Linked DNA regions of Homo sapiens: regions 2, 3, 4 and 5 are each linked to region 1. Evidence: promoter capture Hi-C in 16 types of primary human blood cells and fetal thymus (Javierre and others, 2016). All regions are on one chromosome and are shown on one strand. The core of a region is centred on a gene start or on the middle of the fragment in contact, and the rest is flanking DNA. Distances in the headings are between cores, read along the strand shown.

Region 1 (2,700 bases), core at 27-2,526:
GACAGAAAAAGAAACGAAGGTGGAAAGTGGAGAGCTGAAGGTGGAGAGGCAGAGCCAGGAGCCTTAGAGGCGCAAATGTGGAGAGGGGTGGAGGGAACCTGGCAAAAATACAGGGTCCCTGGTAGGTGCAGGGGTCATGGAGGGTCCGGCGCTGCCCCTTCGCTTCTCAGCTGCTCCCCCATCTTGCCCGCCTAGGCAGGGCGGGGAGCCCTCCGGAGCGGTGCGGAGGCAGCCAGGCCCCGCCCGCCGCAGCCGCGGCAGCCGCCGGAGGATTCCTGTCCTAATATGGAGCTGGGATTCCCCCGGCCCCGCCCCCGCCCCCGGCCCGCGGGGAGACAGAGGCTGGCAGCAGGGCGGGGGGAAGCGCTCGCTTGGGGGCCGGCAACGGGGGGAAGGGATGCCTAAGTGCAGACCCAGGTCCTCGCCGTGCCCCCACGTCCCTGCCTCAGTTTCCCCTTCAGTAAGGTTAATTAGCTGAGAGGGAAACCACGAATCACTGCAGACTACAGCGCTGATGTTGGTTTCTATTCTTGGCTGTGGGAAAACAGGATCAACGCCAAATTCAGCTGGTCCCTTTCCCACCGGACTCCCTTTCCACCCATCCTCGGGACTTAGACCCCCATGAACACCCCCTGATAAGCCGCCAAGGCCCGATTTGGGAAGCGGGGGCGGGAATTTGTTCTCTAAAAATGGCCAAGGGAATCCCAGGTTAAATAGTCCCCAGAGAGGAACCCCAGCAGTGACCTGTCCCACGGAGGCCAAGGAAAGTCCTCCTTCCCTGCATGTGAACGTGACCTTGTCTGTCAAGTAACGAGGGGGATTTGTAGACAACCCTGTTCTTCCCCATTCCCTCAACTCCTCAGAAAAATTAGTGTCAGTGCCGGCCCCTCTCTGCCCTCTGCGGACTCCTGCCGCGGGCTTCAGGCCGCCCTAAACCTGGCCCTGTCGCTTCCCTCAACTGAACGCATTCAGACGCCAGGGTCCCCACACTCCATTCAAGCTTTCCTAACGCAGCGCCTTCCTCTCCGCTCAGCTCCCGCCAGGCTTGGCCCCCTCCGCAGCCTCCTGCTCCCCCCTCGCCCGCCTCCCTCCCTCTCTCATTCTACGTCATGAGATGACGTCGGAAGCCGGGCGGGAGGAGGAGCCCCCCTCCCCAGTCAGCGGCTCCCGCTGCAGCTTGCTTAGCCCAGCCTCCCGCTCTCCCGCCCCCCCGGCTCTAAAACGAGCCCCCCACGCCTGGCAGGAGCTATATAAGGCGGCGTGAGGCAGGCGAGGGGGGCAGCGCAGCCGAGCGGAGCCCAGGAGAGCAGAGAGCGAGCCTGAGCGAGAGACGGGGAAGCACGGAGGAGGAAGCCGCCGGTGCGTCGGGACGGGAGCGCAGGTGCTCGGGCACCCGAGCTGGAGCTCCGCAGCCGCCGGTCATGTACCGCTCCACCAAGGGCGCCTCCAAGGCGCGCCGGGACCAGATCAACGCCGAGATCCGGAACCTCAAGGAGCTGCTGCCGCTGGCCGAAGCGGACAAGGTCCGGCTGTCCTACCTGCACATCATGAGCCTCGCCTGCATCTACACTCGCAAGGGCGTCTTCTTCGCTGGTGGTGAGCATGCTGGGGCTACCGCAGATCCGAGCTGCCAGGCGCCGGAGACCCTGGAGCTGAGGGAACCCGCTGGGGCTGTCGCATGTCTAGGGCAGCGTGCTGGCGAGCTGGGGAGATTCGGGACTCGGGAGATTCGGGACTTTCTACTTTTCCTCCTGAGCTCCCTCCAGACCTCACCTTAGTTCTGAATGAGAGTTAGAGAGCCTGGACGGTGTCCCTAACACCAGATTATGAGAGGATAAGAGCCAGGACAGAGCGGCCTCGGTGCCCGCCAGTGCAGAAGCGCTCCGGGAGCCGGGGAGGGAAGCCCGGGAAGTTGCAGGGATGGAGCTGCCTGAGCCTAGGGGAACATAGCTACTGTCCGCGGTGCTGAAAGGGATCTCCTGTCGCCTTCGGGGCGCTGCCCATGGTGCTGACGGCTGCGCCGGCCGTGTATGGCTCTGTCCATGGTTCTGAACCCACAGTCGGCTTCGGAGCTCTGTCCGCGGTTCTGAAATTCAGAGCCGCTTTGGAGCTCTGTCCGCGGTTCTGAAATTAAGAGCCGAGAGGAGCCGACCCCGCTTTAGAAGTCGAGGGCTTGTGGGCTATGGAGATACAGCAACAGGTTCCCTGGCCAAGAGCTGCGGGCAGCGGGTCAACAGGTGTTTGCAGAGGCAGGTCCATGAGAAATTCCTCTGGATTCTCTGAAACTCAGACCATGCCTTCCTCACTTCTTCTCTGCCTCCCAGTCTTACTCCTGACGCACTACGTCTTCTCGCCCTACAGGCACTCCTCTGGCGGGCCCCACGGGGCTTCTCTCAGCTCAAGAGCTTGAGGACATCGTAGCGGCACTACCCGGCTTTCTGCTTGTGTTCACAGCCGAGGGGAAATTGCTCTACCTGTCTGAGAGTGTGAGCGAGCATCTGGGCCACTCCATGGTGAGTGCTAAGGGTCCTTTCAGCTGAGGCTGGGCATGGAGTGGGTGCCGTGAGCCTTCCACTCCTGAGGAACTGGGAATTACTATGGAGGGAGAGGTTATACCCTACAAGATACTGTAGATCAAAGATTGGCTCCTGCTGTTCTCCCTAATGGTCATCTCTTCTTTTCCTCCCTCCAGGTGGACCT
Region 2 (2,742 bases), core at 43-2,542, 400 kb after region 1:
ACTATGGAAAATACCAATCTAGATGATACATTAACATAGCAATAGCAATATTTTGAAACTGTACAGTGTACATTTCAAAACACTTCATGGGCTAGGCACTGTGGCTTGGCTCCTGTAATCCCAATACTTTGAGGGGCCAAAGCAGGAGGACCGCTTGAGCCCAAGAGTTCAAGACCAGCTCGGGCAACACAGCGAGACCTCGTCTCTACATATACAAATTTGCCCGGGCATGGTCCCTCACACCTGTAATCCCAGCACTTTGGGAGGCCGAGGCGGGCGGATCACACTGAGGTCAGGAGTTTGAGACCAGTCTGGCCAACATGGCGAAACCCCGTCTCTACTAAAAATACAAAAATTAGCTGGGTGTGGTGGCAGGCGCCTGTAATCCCAGCTACTCGGGAGGCTGAGGCAAGATAATCACTTGAATCCAGGAGGCGGAGGTTGCAGTGAGCCGAGATCACGCCATTGCACTCCAGCTCGGGCAACAAGAGCAAAACTCTTGTCTTAAAAAAAAAAAAAAAAAAAAAATTGGCCAGGCATGGTGGTGGTGTACACCTGTGGTCCCAGCTATTCGGGAGGCTGAGGTGGGAGGATCACTTGAGCCCCGGTGGTCGAGGCTGCAGTGAGCCAAGATCGTGTCACTGCACTCCAGGCTGGGCAACAAAACCCACAAAACACTTTGTGTACATTATCGCAGTTTATCTACACAACATACCTGTGAGAGCAGGTGGTATAAAGCCATTTTCTATACTGAAGAAAAGATTTCATCACCACTAGTTGATGGCAGAATTGGCCCTAGAATCTATGTTCTCCCTGACTCCAGCTCCAGAATCCTTTTGAGCTTACCATATATTACGTTCCCTACCAGGAAAGGATCATGGTGCCTTGTGGTAGAAAATGTTCTTCTGGTTTGCATTTTTAATACAGTCCTGGAAAAAGCCAGCCAGTTTTAGGCTGCTTCCCATAGAATTCTGAACACTGAAAACAAAGAATAATCAAGAAGGATTTTCTCCAGGTGACCTGTAAATTTGGCTTCCTGTGCCTGCTGCATCGGGATCATTAAATGGTGGCCTATTGTTTGATGGCATAGTTTTTTTGCCTGTTGCTCTCACATATTAGCTTTTCTGAATGAGACTGAGCAGTGGTGCCTGTGGTTACTTTAACAGAGATAATCTCCCATTTAAAAGGACCTCATACCAACAGTTCTGTGTCATCTCTGTGAATTTTAACCTTTTCTTTACCACAGTACGTCTGAAAGCACTGCCACAACAGTGATGTTCACATAGACGTAGAGTAGGGTTAGACACACTCTATAGGACCTTTGCTTCTCCCTTTCTCCTCTCCTTTGGGAGTCACTGGGATTGTTGTTTATAGTACATGGTATATATTTCTGCTATGAATTAAACAGGATCCCTTATTTGTTTCTTTAAAAAATAATGTCATTCTCCACCTTAATTTTCCTGAGCTTTCTTAGATTTATGAGTGGGAATTAGGTAGGTGTGTAAGTTGCTGGGAGATTTTGTCTAAAAAAAGGTAATTATTTGTGGATATGTAGGGGTCTCTTCTTCCAAGAGGCATCTTTCCCACTCCCAGTCCTGACTCAAAGCACATGAACAGCAATCTTGAAGTAGTTATCCTCGCTCATGGTTAATCCTTGGATAATGCAAGCCTGATACCATGTTCTGAGCCCTACTGAACATTTCTAAAGAACTCGGATTCCTCAGAAACCAGTGTTATCATTCCTGAACTACTGTGATAATTTGTACACCTCTGTTTAGCTTGATTCTGAGGGCCTGCAGTATCTCAGTCGTTGTACTCAGTATTGGATTTAAAAGAAATTCATCAGTGTATTAGTAAACAAGTGTCTTAAATCTTACACATCTGGTAATTTTTTTTTTTTTTTTTTTGAGACGGAGTCTCACTCTGTCACCCAGGCTGGAGCGCAGTGGCACAATCTTGGCTCACTGCAAGCTCCGCCTCCCGGGTTCACGCCATTCTCCTGCCTCAGCCTCCCGAGTAGCTGGGACTACAGGTGCCCGCCACCGTGCTTGGCTAATTTTTTGTATTTTTAGTGGAGACGGGGTTTCACCGTGGTCTCGATCTCCTGACCTCGTGATCCGCCCGCCTCGGCCTCCCAAAGTGCTGGGATTACAGGCCACATCTGGTAATTTAAGACTAGCTTTTGCAGATGCACAGTGAGGGGAGGTAGATATAGTGATAATTTTACCTTCTCCCTCCCCTTAGGAGTCTATACTTTGCTCACAACTCATCTCAATGCCATCCTTGTGGAGAGCCACAGTGTAGTGCAAGGTTCCATCCAATTCACTGTGGACAAGGTCTTGGAGCAACATCACCAGGCTGCCAAGGTAATAAGGAATTCACAGCCTCTTTTCTCCTATTCTCTAAGAAAAAGATAGCAAGCATATATGGCAGGCAGGGCCCAGGAGCCCTTCCTCCCTTAATGCCCCTTCCTCTCCTCTTCTGTCACCTGGGTGATCTTGTAACACTGCATCTAGCCTACAACTCAAACTTTAGCTTAGATGGATCACTGTAACCAGCTTGCTTAGTCTTACCTCCTAGTAGGTGTGTTTGGGTAAATAGGGAAATAGTTAATAGGGAAAAATGGCTGATAACACACCTCTTCCTTATGCATATAATTCCCCTTCCCACACAGACTTCTGGAGCTGCTGTTTCGCTGTGTCTTACATTCTTCCCCCATTTTCCTAATTCTTTACACCACCA
Region 3 (2,700 bases), core at 172-2,671, 420 kb after region 1:
GAGACCCCTGTCTCTACAAGTAAAAAAAATTAGCCGGTGTGGTGGCATGCGCCTGTGGTTCCTGGTACTCTGGAAGCTGAAGCTGAGGCAGTAGGATCGCTTGAGCCCAGGAGGTCGAGGCTGCAGTGAGCCAGGACTGAGCCACTGCACTCCAGCCTGGGCAACAGAGCAAGACCTTGTCTCAAAAAAACAAAAGGTCAGCTCAGGTATCTCCTCATGGAAACCCTTCTTCACATCCAGAGGTGGTCGGCTTCCTTCTCTATTCTAACCCTGGGCTTTGTACACAGGTCTGCATCCCCTCCTAGCATCTGTGAGCTTCTCTCAGGGAAAAGCTCATTGATCTGCATCCCCAAGACCTGCTGGGGAAGAATCTATCCATCTAAACTCGCTTTAATTTGACAAATGAATCAGTTAAGAGTAGGAAAGCTGCCTATGGGCACTGCTCAATGCAACGTGAGCAACAAAGGGAGACAGAACTGAGGCCAGAAAGGTGAGGGGGGACAGAGGCTGGCAGGGAGGGGAGCTTGTCAGTGCAGACTCCAGGAAGAATCTATACAGAAAGTTACTGAGCGGCCTGAGTCCCCCAAGTGAGGGCTCGGGACAATCTCCCGCCTGGGTGAGAGAATAGGGAGACCCTGAAACGTCTCTGCAGCCTCGGGCTGCTCCAGAAGCGCCCACAGCTGCAGGGTTTTGGTGTGGATGGGACCTGCTGACAGGGATGCGGTGGGAAGAGCCCCTCGGCGCCCGTTCTCCCAGGCTTCCCCTTGGCCAAGGGTGCTCCTAGCACAGGGCCATGAAAGTAAGATGAAGAGGCTTGTTTTTCTCCTAGATACCAGCGGGCAAGCAGAAAACAAGAGGCTCAAGAGGGGCAGCCCCCGCATAGAGGAGATGCGAGCTCTGCGCTCTGCCAGGGCCCCGAGCCCGTCAGAGGCCGCCCCGCGCCGCCCGGAAGCCACCGCGGCCCCCCTCACTCCTAGAGGAAGGGAGCACCGCGAGGCTCACGGCAGGGCCCTGGCGCCGGGCAGGGCGAGCCTCGGAAGCCGCCTGGAGGTAACTGGGCGAGGGCCGCGCAGGGAAGGGCTCAGCAGGAGGTGCAGGCCACGGGCCGCTGCTGAGAGGTCCTCACCCCGGGCCCCCTTGTTCCCGCAGGACGTGCTGTGGCTGCAGGAGGTCTCCAACCTGTCAGAGTGGCTGAGTCCCAGCCCTGGGCCCTGAGCCGGGTCCCCTTCCGCAAGCGCCCACCGATCCGGAGGCTGCGGGCAGCCGTTATCCCGTGGTTTAATAAAGCTGCCGCGCGCTCACCAAGTCCTCTTCCGCGTCTGCTTCCGCGTCGGGCCCGGGCGGGGCGGGGCGGGGCGTGGAGCCGCGCCGCGGCCTGACGTCACCCACACCTCCCTGGGACTGCGTCACTGGTGCGCGCCGCGGGTCAGGGCGCAATGGCGGCGCTGGGCGGGGATGGGCTGCGACTGCTGTCGGTGTCGCGGCCGGAGCGGCCGCCCGAGTCGGCGGCGCTGGGCGGCCTGGGCCCCGGGCTGTGCTGCTGGGTGTCAGTGTTCTCCTGCCTCAGCCTCGCCTGCTCCTACGTGGGCAGCCTCTACGTCTGGAAGAGCGAACTGCCCAGGTGCGGGGGCTGCGCGCGACCGGAATCCGCGCCCTGCGGGCGGAGCTTGGGCGAGCCGGGGGCGGGTCCGTGCTCATGGGCAGCCGCGGGCCCCCTGAACTTACTGTCCCCTCCGTAGGGACCATCCCGCGGTCATCAAGCGACGCTTCACCAGCGTCCTGGTGGTGTCCAGTCTCTCACCCCTGTGCGTGCTGCTCTGGAGGGAACTCACAGGCATCCAGGTGCGAAGGAGGCGGGGCAAAGGGCAACGGCGGTGAGAGCTCAGGGGTCTTTAGGGGAGGAAGCAAAACTGATGCCCCCTTTCCTGTGGCTCAGCCAGGCACATCCCTGCTCACCCTGATGGGCTTCAGGCTGGAGGGCATTTTCCCAGCGGCGCTGCTGCCCCTGTTGCTGACCATGGTGAGTGCTCCTGCTGTATTTTTTCTTCTGGTCTTTGTTATCAGCCTGATGGGCAGTGCCGTGGACTCTTGTTTTTGGTTTTTGGTTGATGGGAGACAGGACTTTTGAGATGGCCCCAGGGTCCTCCGGTATGCATGGTCTGGAAATCGTGGCTGGAGAGGATTTCAAGCTTGGAGTCTCAGGGAGCATGGGCAAAGGTCTGGGCAAAAGCGGTGGGTTATGGTGAAAGTGTTTTCTTGCCCTCAGATTCTTTTCCTGGGCCCACTGATGCAGCTCTCTATGGATTGCCCTTGTGACCTGGCAGATGGGCTGAAGGTTGTCCTGGGTGAGTCTTAAAGGCTGAAGGGAAAAGTAGGCACAGGCAGTCCAGGACATTGGGGCAGGGAGTCAGCGGGCTCAGGGTGTGATCTGGACACGTGAAATGTCATCTCTCTGGGTGTGTTTTCTCATCAGTAAAATGGAAACATAGAGCTAGGTGGCCTCTAAGGGTTGATTGCCAACGTCCAAGGAGTTCCCTGGGAACCCCCAGCAGTATTTGGTGTGGATCAGAGAGCACTGTCCCCTGCTTCCCCAACCAGAGCTAGTCTTGCTTAAATTTTGGTGTCTCCAGAGTTTACTTCCAGGATGCCCTTGCCTCAGCTAATGCCTTCCATTCAGGTCATCTCAAGACATTGGGTTTA
Region 4 (2,700 bases), core at 112-2,611, 380 kb after region 1:
GTCGACTCCCAGCATTATGTGAGGTGAAGGCGTAAAGCCTTGTTGTCCCTCTGCATGTTTTACTCTCCTCTCGAGTACGAATGTGGGTAGAAATTGGAAATTGTCTCACTTGTCATTTGTAAGTGCCAGGTGTCAGCTTCTCTATAAGAAAAGCAGAAGTAAAACTTTTTTTTATGTTGAAAACTGCTATTTTAAGTTATTTATGTATTTGAATCTATTCTAAATGACCTGAAGACATGTGCCTTCTTCTCTTCAGGCCTTATTTTACACAGACCCTGCTAGTTCCAATCCCATTTAGGCATGAGAAGAGAAGACTATGAATTTAAAACTTTACTTGAATTCTTGGCTAGAGAGATAGTATGAATACAAAGGAATTCAGTGTACATTATTTTCTGTGCATCAGCATTTTGCATAGGTTTGGAAATCATCTCTCTGCCCATCTCCATCTTCTTCAGACTCCAAGAAAGTAAATCTGGCCAGGCGCAGTGGCTCATGCCTATAATCCCAGCACTTTGGGAGGCTGAAGTTGATGGATCACTTGAGGTTAAGAGTTTGAGACCAGCCTGGCCAACATGGCAAAACCCTGTCTCTGCTAAAAATACAAAAATTAGCTGGGCATGGTAGCACATGCCTGTAATCCCAGCTACTTGGGAGGCCAAAGCATGAGAATCACTTGAACCCAGGAGGTGGAGGTTGCAGTGAGCCGAGATCACGCCACTGCACTCCAGCGACAGAGCAAGACTCTGTCTCAAAAAAAATAAATAAATAAAAAATGTAAAAAATCCATGGAGGAGGTGGTAAACAATATGGAACACACAGAGCCCTTCTGTCTTGCCTTCCTGTGCCATTTAACTACCACAGAATCCAAAGTGAAAATGAATTATGTCAAGAAAAGACCTAACATATGCTTAAGTCCAATTAATTTATTTTTTCTTTTTTTGAGACAGGGTCTCAGTCTGTTCAACCCAGATGCCATCATAGCTCACTGCAGCCTTGGTCTCCTGGGCTCAAGTCATTTTCCCACCTCAGCCTCTCGAGTAGCTAGTAGCTAGGACCACAGAAATATGCTACCATACGCTGCTAATTTTTTTTTTTTTTGAGACGGAGTCTCGCTCTTTCGCCCAGGCTGGAGTGCAGATCTCACCTCACTGCAACCTCCACCTCCCTGGTTCAAGCGATTCTCCTGCCTCAATCTCCTGAGTAGCTGGGACTATAGGTGCATGCCACCACGCCCAGCTAATTTTTTTGTATTTTTAGTAGAAATGGGGTTTCACCATGTTGGCCAGGATGGTCTCAATCTCCTGACCTCGTGATCCTCCTGCCTCGGTCTCCCAAAGTGCTGAGATTACAGGCATGAGCCACTGCGCCCAGCCCATATACTGCTAATTTAAAAAAAATTTTTTTTTGTAGAGATGAGGTTGTTGCCTAGGCTGGTGTCAAACTCCTGGACTCAAGCAATCCTCCTGCCTCGGCCTTTCAAAGAGCTGGGATTACAGATGTGAGCCAATGTGTCCAGCCCTAATTTAGTCTTTATTCATTAGTTTCTGCCTCTATTTATGTGCCCAGAGGCAACACTAGTAGTCAAAGTCTCTTAAGGCTTAAAGAGACTGCCTGTGGTTCTTAGTCTGTTTTCTTATTCTCACCCAAAATTACACCTCAGATGAGAATATTTTTGTCATTTAATATGCAGGTAATAATTTCCCCACCCCATATCTTTCTTTAGTGATCCTCTAATAATAAACAATCCTTACAGGTAGCAGCTCATCATCATAGTTGTACTGACACAAGTTTAAGCCTTTGAGCCAATTTTTGTAGATGTGTTTCCTTGGATGACCTGATTAGAGACAAAGGGAAAGGTTCATTAATATTTCCTCTCTATTAATTAATTCATTCATTCTTAATCAGCTTTCTCAGGTTGACTGTTTTCTCTCTGTTTAGAAAAGAGCTATTGGAAAGTAACAAAATTTTACTAGATTCTTTCTAGGAGAGAAAGATGGCCTGGTTTTTTCTCATTGTTACTATCAAACAGCAACCTCAGACCTCTTCAGCGGAAGGTGTAGCATGCGTGAGAGCAGACTTATAAGTATCATGGGGCCAGTTTTAGGCCATTTGTGATTCATGGGCCCCCTCACACAATGCTGACCTTTGAATGAATTTGGAAATTTGCTCAGAACCAAAGATTAATTTTAGTGGAGGAAGTATACTTGAGAATAAGAAACAGGCTGGTCATGATATCTCACACCTGTAGTCCCAGCACTTTGGGAGGCCAAGGCAGAAAGATTGCTTGAGGCCAGGAGTTTGAGACCAGCCTAATAAACATAGTGAGACCCCATCTCTAATAAAATAAAATAATAGTAATTATTTTTCGAGACAAAGTCTCGCTCTGTTGCTCAGGCTGGAGTGCAGTGGCGCAATATCAGCTCACTGCAACCTCCGCTTCCCAGGTTCAAGCGATTCTCCTGCCTCAGCCTCCTGAATAGCTGGGATTACAGGTGTGCACCATCATGCACAGCTATTGTATCTTTAGTAGAGATGGAGTTTCACCATGTTGGCCAGGTTGGTCTTGAACTCCTGACCTCAAGTGATCCACCCACCTCAGCCTCCCAAAGTGCTGGGATTACAGGCATGAGCCACAATGCCTGGTCTAAAATGTTTTTTTAAAAAGAGAAACTAAGAAGCATCCGTTAGTGGCAGCAAAAG
Region 5 (2,700 bases), core at 139-2,638, 270 kb after region 1:
CGGGGGGGTGGATCATACTCCGTTTTGTTGAATTCTGTTGAAAAGTGTGAGTGATAATTTCCTGTTTGCCCTTGTCTCAGCTCAGCTTCATGTCCCCTTTCTGTACAATTCTTCAAATTGTGTGTGTGTGTATGTATTTAGAGATGATAGGGTCTTGCTCTGGAGTGCACTAGCGCAATCACTGCAGTGTCGACCTCCCAGGCTCAAGAGATCCTCCCACCTCAGCCTCCTAAGTAGTTGGGCCTACAGGCATGCACGGCTGTGCCTGGCTAATAAAAAAAAATTTTTTTTGTAGAGATGGGGGGTCTCACTATGTTGCCCAGGCTGGTCTTGAACTCCTGGACTCAAGCAATCCTCCCATCTCAGCCTCCCAAGGTGCTAGGATTACAGGTGTGAGCCTATGCCCGGCCTCTTCAAATCATATACCTCAAAACCAGGAGGACAGTGCCTGCTCAGCCTGGTCTTGCCCCTTAGCCCCTCAGTGCTCTGCCTGGGACTAGGTCCTAGTCTCCCTGTGGGTCCTCCACTCTTCCCACGGTTGATCTGAGCTGGGTGCCCTCCCTACACTCACAGTCACATGCTCGTAGTCCTGGCCCAGCTCGTGGGAGGCCGCCACCACCTCGCGCTCCTGGATCCACTGTTCCAGGTCATCCAGCTCGCGGCGGAGCTGGCACAGCCGGAGGTGCTCCTGCAGGCGCTCCCGCCGCTCTCCAGCCAGCTCCTTCAGGCCGGCATACAGCTTGTCCACCTGGGCTTGGCGGATGGATATCCGAGTGCTGCAAGAAGAGTGAGGGAGGCACTGTGGGACTTAGGGGTGTAGCTCTGACCTCCGGTCTGTTCTGTGGAGCCCTGTCCCTCTGAGTCTCCCAACAGCTCGCCCACCCTGTGTTCCAGCTTTCTAGAAGGCTCCGTGCACACAGCACTGAAGGCTCCACATTCCCTGCACCTTCCTGTTCCTGCAGCCGGCTCCACCCCCAGGCTGGGCCGGGCTGCCGCTGCACCCACCTCTCTGGGTGCTCGTGGTCAATCATGTCCTGGCTGCTGGCCGCCAGCTGGTGGATGGTCTGCGCGTAGTCGGCCAGGGCTTGCTCCAGCACCTGGTGCTTCTTCACCTCTGCCTGGGCACTCAGCTCATCCTGGGGGAAGGGACAGTGGCATCCAGCATCAGGTCAGGGGAGGGCAGAACTGGTCACATACACTGGGCTCTGTCCTGGCCCTCACCTTGGCCTTCTCCTGGCCCATCATGTGTAATTCCTGCTCGCCCATCCAGGCCTCCGCCTCGGCGGCATCGCGGTAGAACTGCTGGGCTCGCAGGGCATCCTCCAGTCGCTTCCCTCGAAGTTCCAGCTCGTGGCCCAGGCGTTTCCACATTTCCTGCAGCTCAGCCAGCTCTGGACCTGCTGCTGCTGCACCTAGAGCACGCTGCCGCTCCCTCAGGTCCGCGATCCGGGGCTCATGGCCCTGAATCTCTTTCTGCAGGGTCTGCCCATGGCCACAGAAGAGAAAATGCTGAAAGTCCTGCCCCAGCCCCACGTGCTCCCGGAGACCACCCTTCACCCCTGTGCCTCTCTCCTTCCTGGGTCCTCTGCTCCCTCTCCTAGCCTGGGGGTGCGATGGTAACACCCGTCAGCCGCCCAGCCCCCACTATCTCCTACTGAGAGGACCCACCCTCCCAAGGTGAGGAAAGACAGCCACTGAAGTCCAGGGTTACACTCAGCATCGAGGGGGGCCTGGTCTTAAGAAAAAACACGTCCAAGTCTGGGCAGGCTCCTGGGAACTTCTCTTTTGCCTTCAGCCTCTGCCTCACCTGGTTTTTCTTCATGAGAAGCTGGACGCTGGGCAGGTCCTTGCCATGCTCCATGGAGCTGGCCATGGGCAGCCGCTCTGTCACCCACAACTGGAAGAGGAAGAGGGGGTCAGTGGAGGCCCAGAGGGCAAGGCAAGCAGCAGGGACTGATTAGTGGGAGTGGGGACACCTGGGGCTACCGCCCTGTGTGTGGGGAACAGTCATCTCTGGTTCTGGGAGGCATCTCCAAGTCTCCCTATAGGGGAGATGGTCAATGCCAAAGAGAAGAGGGAATAGAGCCCTGCTGGCATCTCCCTGGCATCCAGGAGGGAGGCTGGAGAACCACATGGCTGGGGGCAGCTTGCCGTCCTTGGCCCCAGTGACTCACAATCTCATCTTCCACATCGCGGTGGAACTGGTGCTGCTCGCGAGAAGCCTGCAGGCGCCGGCAGCGTTCCCGCATGGGCTGGCACAAGGCCCTGAACTTCTCCTCCACGGCCCTCGAGGTTCTCTCCACCTCCCCTGCACCCTGGTCCTCCTGGGCCAGTGCTTTGGCCTGGGCCTGGATTGCCTCCACCTCCTTCTCTCTCACAGCCATCTCCCATTCCAGCATCTGCAAACCGCCAGGAGGAAGGACATGTTAGCTCTGCATTTCCGCCTTCATGCCCAGCAGAGACACCAACCAGTCTCTATCCAGCCCACTGTGGCTGCTCATCACTGCAGCTCACCCAGGGAGAGCATCCCCTCATGGGCTGGATCAGTGGATCTCGAACTTTATATGCACAAGAATCCAAGGGCAGGGGTTGAAAAAATCCCTATTGGGTACTGTGCTCACTACATGGGTGATGGGTTCAATTACACCCCAAACTTCAGCATCACACAATATAACTTATAACAAACCTGCACCCACACCC

The links. Contacts are between HindIII fragments. The CHiCAGO score rates a contact against its expected background, and 5 or more counts as called.
Region 2: a contact is called between a fragment that was not itself captured here and the fragment with the promoter of NPAS4 in region 1, in 2 of 17 cell types (erythroblasts and M1 macrophages). The highest score is 7.1, in erythroblasts.
Region 3: the fragment with the promoter of RCE1 here is called in contact with the fragment with the promoter of NPAS4 in region 1 in 1 of 17 cell types (erythroblasts); the score reaches 5.2 in erythroblasts.
Region 4: a contact is called between a fragment that was not itself captured here and the fragment with the promoter of NPAS4 in region 1, in 1 of 17 cell types (erythroblasts). The highest score is 7.1, in erythroblasts.
Region 5: a contact is called between a fragment that was not itself captured here and the fragment with the promoter of NPAS4 in region 1, in 1 of 17 cell types (M1 macrophages). The highest score is 5.2, in M1 macrophages.

Annotation. Positions count from the first base shown.
Region 1 is chr11:66,419,759-66,422,458 of GRCh38, forward strand. It overlaps NPAS4 (neuronal PAS domain protein 4), which reads left to right and starts at 1,277. Exons shown (of 8, transcript NM_178864.4): 1 at 1,277-1,596; 2 at 2,362-2,513; 3 at 2,693-2,700. The coding sequence starts at 1,422. RefSeq lists an enhancer at 1,323-1,919 and silencers at 1,852-2,166, 1,860-2,154. The HindIII fragment of the contact is 6,351 bases long and covers 999-2,700 here.
Region 2 is chr11:66,819,399-66,822,140 of GRCh38, forward strand. TOP6BL (TOP6B like initiator of meiotic double strand breaks) reads left to right here. Exons shown (of 15, transcript NM_001302084.2): 10 at 2,245-2,366. Among named protein-coding and RNA genes, the nearest start is that of RCE1, 23 kb to the right of the region's middle. The HindIII fragment of the contact is 3,144 bases long and covers 1-2,742 here.
Region 3 is chr11:66,842,020-66,844,719 of GRCh38, forward strand. RCE1 (Ras converting CAAX endopeptidase 1) reads left to right here and starts at 1,422. Exons shown (of 8, transcript NM_005133.3): 1 at 1,422-1,621; 2 at 1,740-1,842; 3 at 1,937-2,020; 4 at 2,267-2,345. The coding sequence starts at 1,437. It overlaps TOP6BL (TOP6B like initiator of meiotic double strand breaks), which reads left to right. Exons shown (of 15, transcript NM_001302084.2): 14 at 830-1,050; 15 at 1,150-1,497. The coding sequence ends at 1,215. RefSeq lists silencers at 963-1,102, 1,213-1,652 and an enhancer at 1,293-1,999. The HindIII fragment of the contact is 21,944 bases long and covers 1-2,187 here.
Region 4 is chr11:66,801,080-66,803,779 of GRCh38, forward strand. It overlaps TOP6BL (TOP6B like initiator of meiotic double strand breaks), which reads left to right. Exons shown (of 15, transcript NM_001302084.2): 6 at 1-23. Among named protein-coding and RNA genes, the nearest start is that of RCE1, 41 kb to the right of the region's middle. The HindIII fragment of the contact is 3,787 bases long and covers 1-2,700 here.
Region 5 is chr11:66,691,965-66,694,664 of GRCh38, forward strand. It overlaps SPTBN2 (spectrin beta, non-erythrocytic 2), which reads right to left. Exons shown (of 38, transcript NM_006946.4): 22 at 2,175-2,399; 23 at 1,808-1,897; 24 at 1,222-1,482; 25 at 1,006-1,136; 26 at 572-776. Among named protein-coding and RNA genes, the nearest start is that of RBM4B, 15 kb to the left of the region's middle. The HindIII fragment of the contact is 9,386 bases long and covers 1-2,700 here.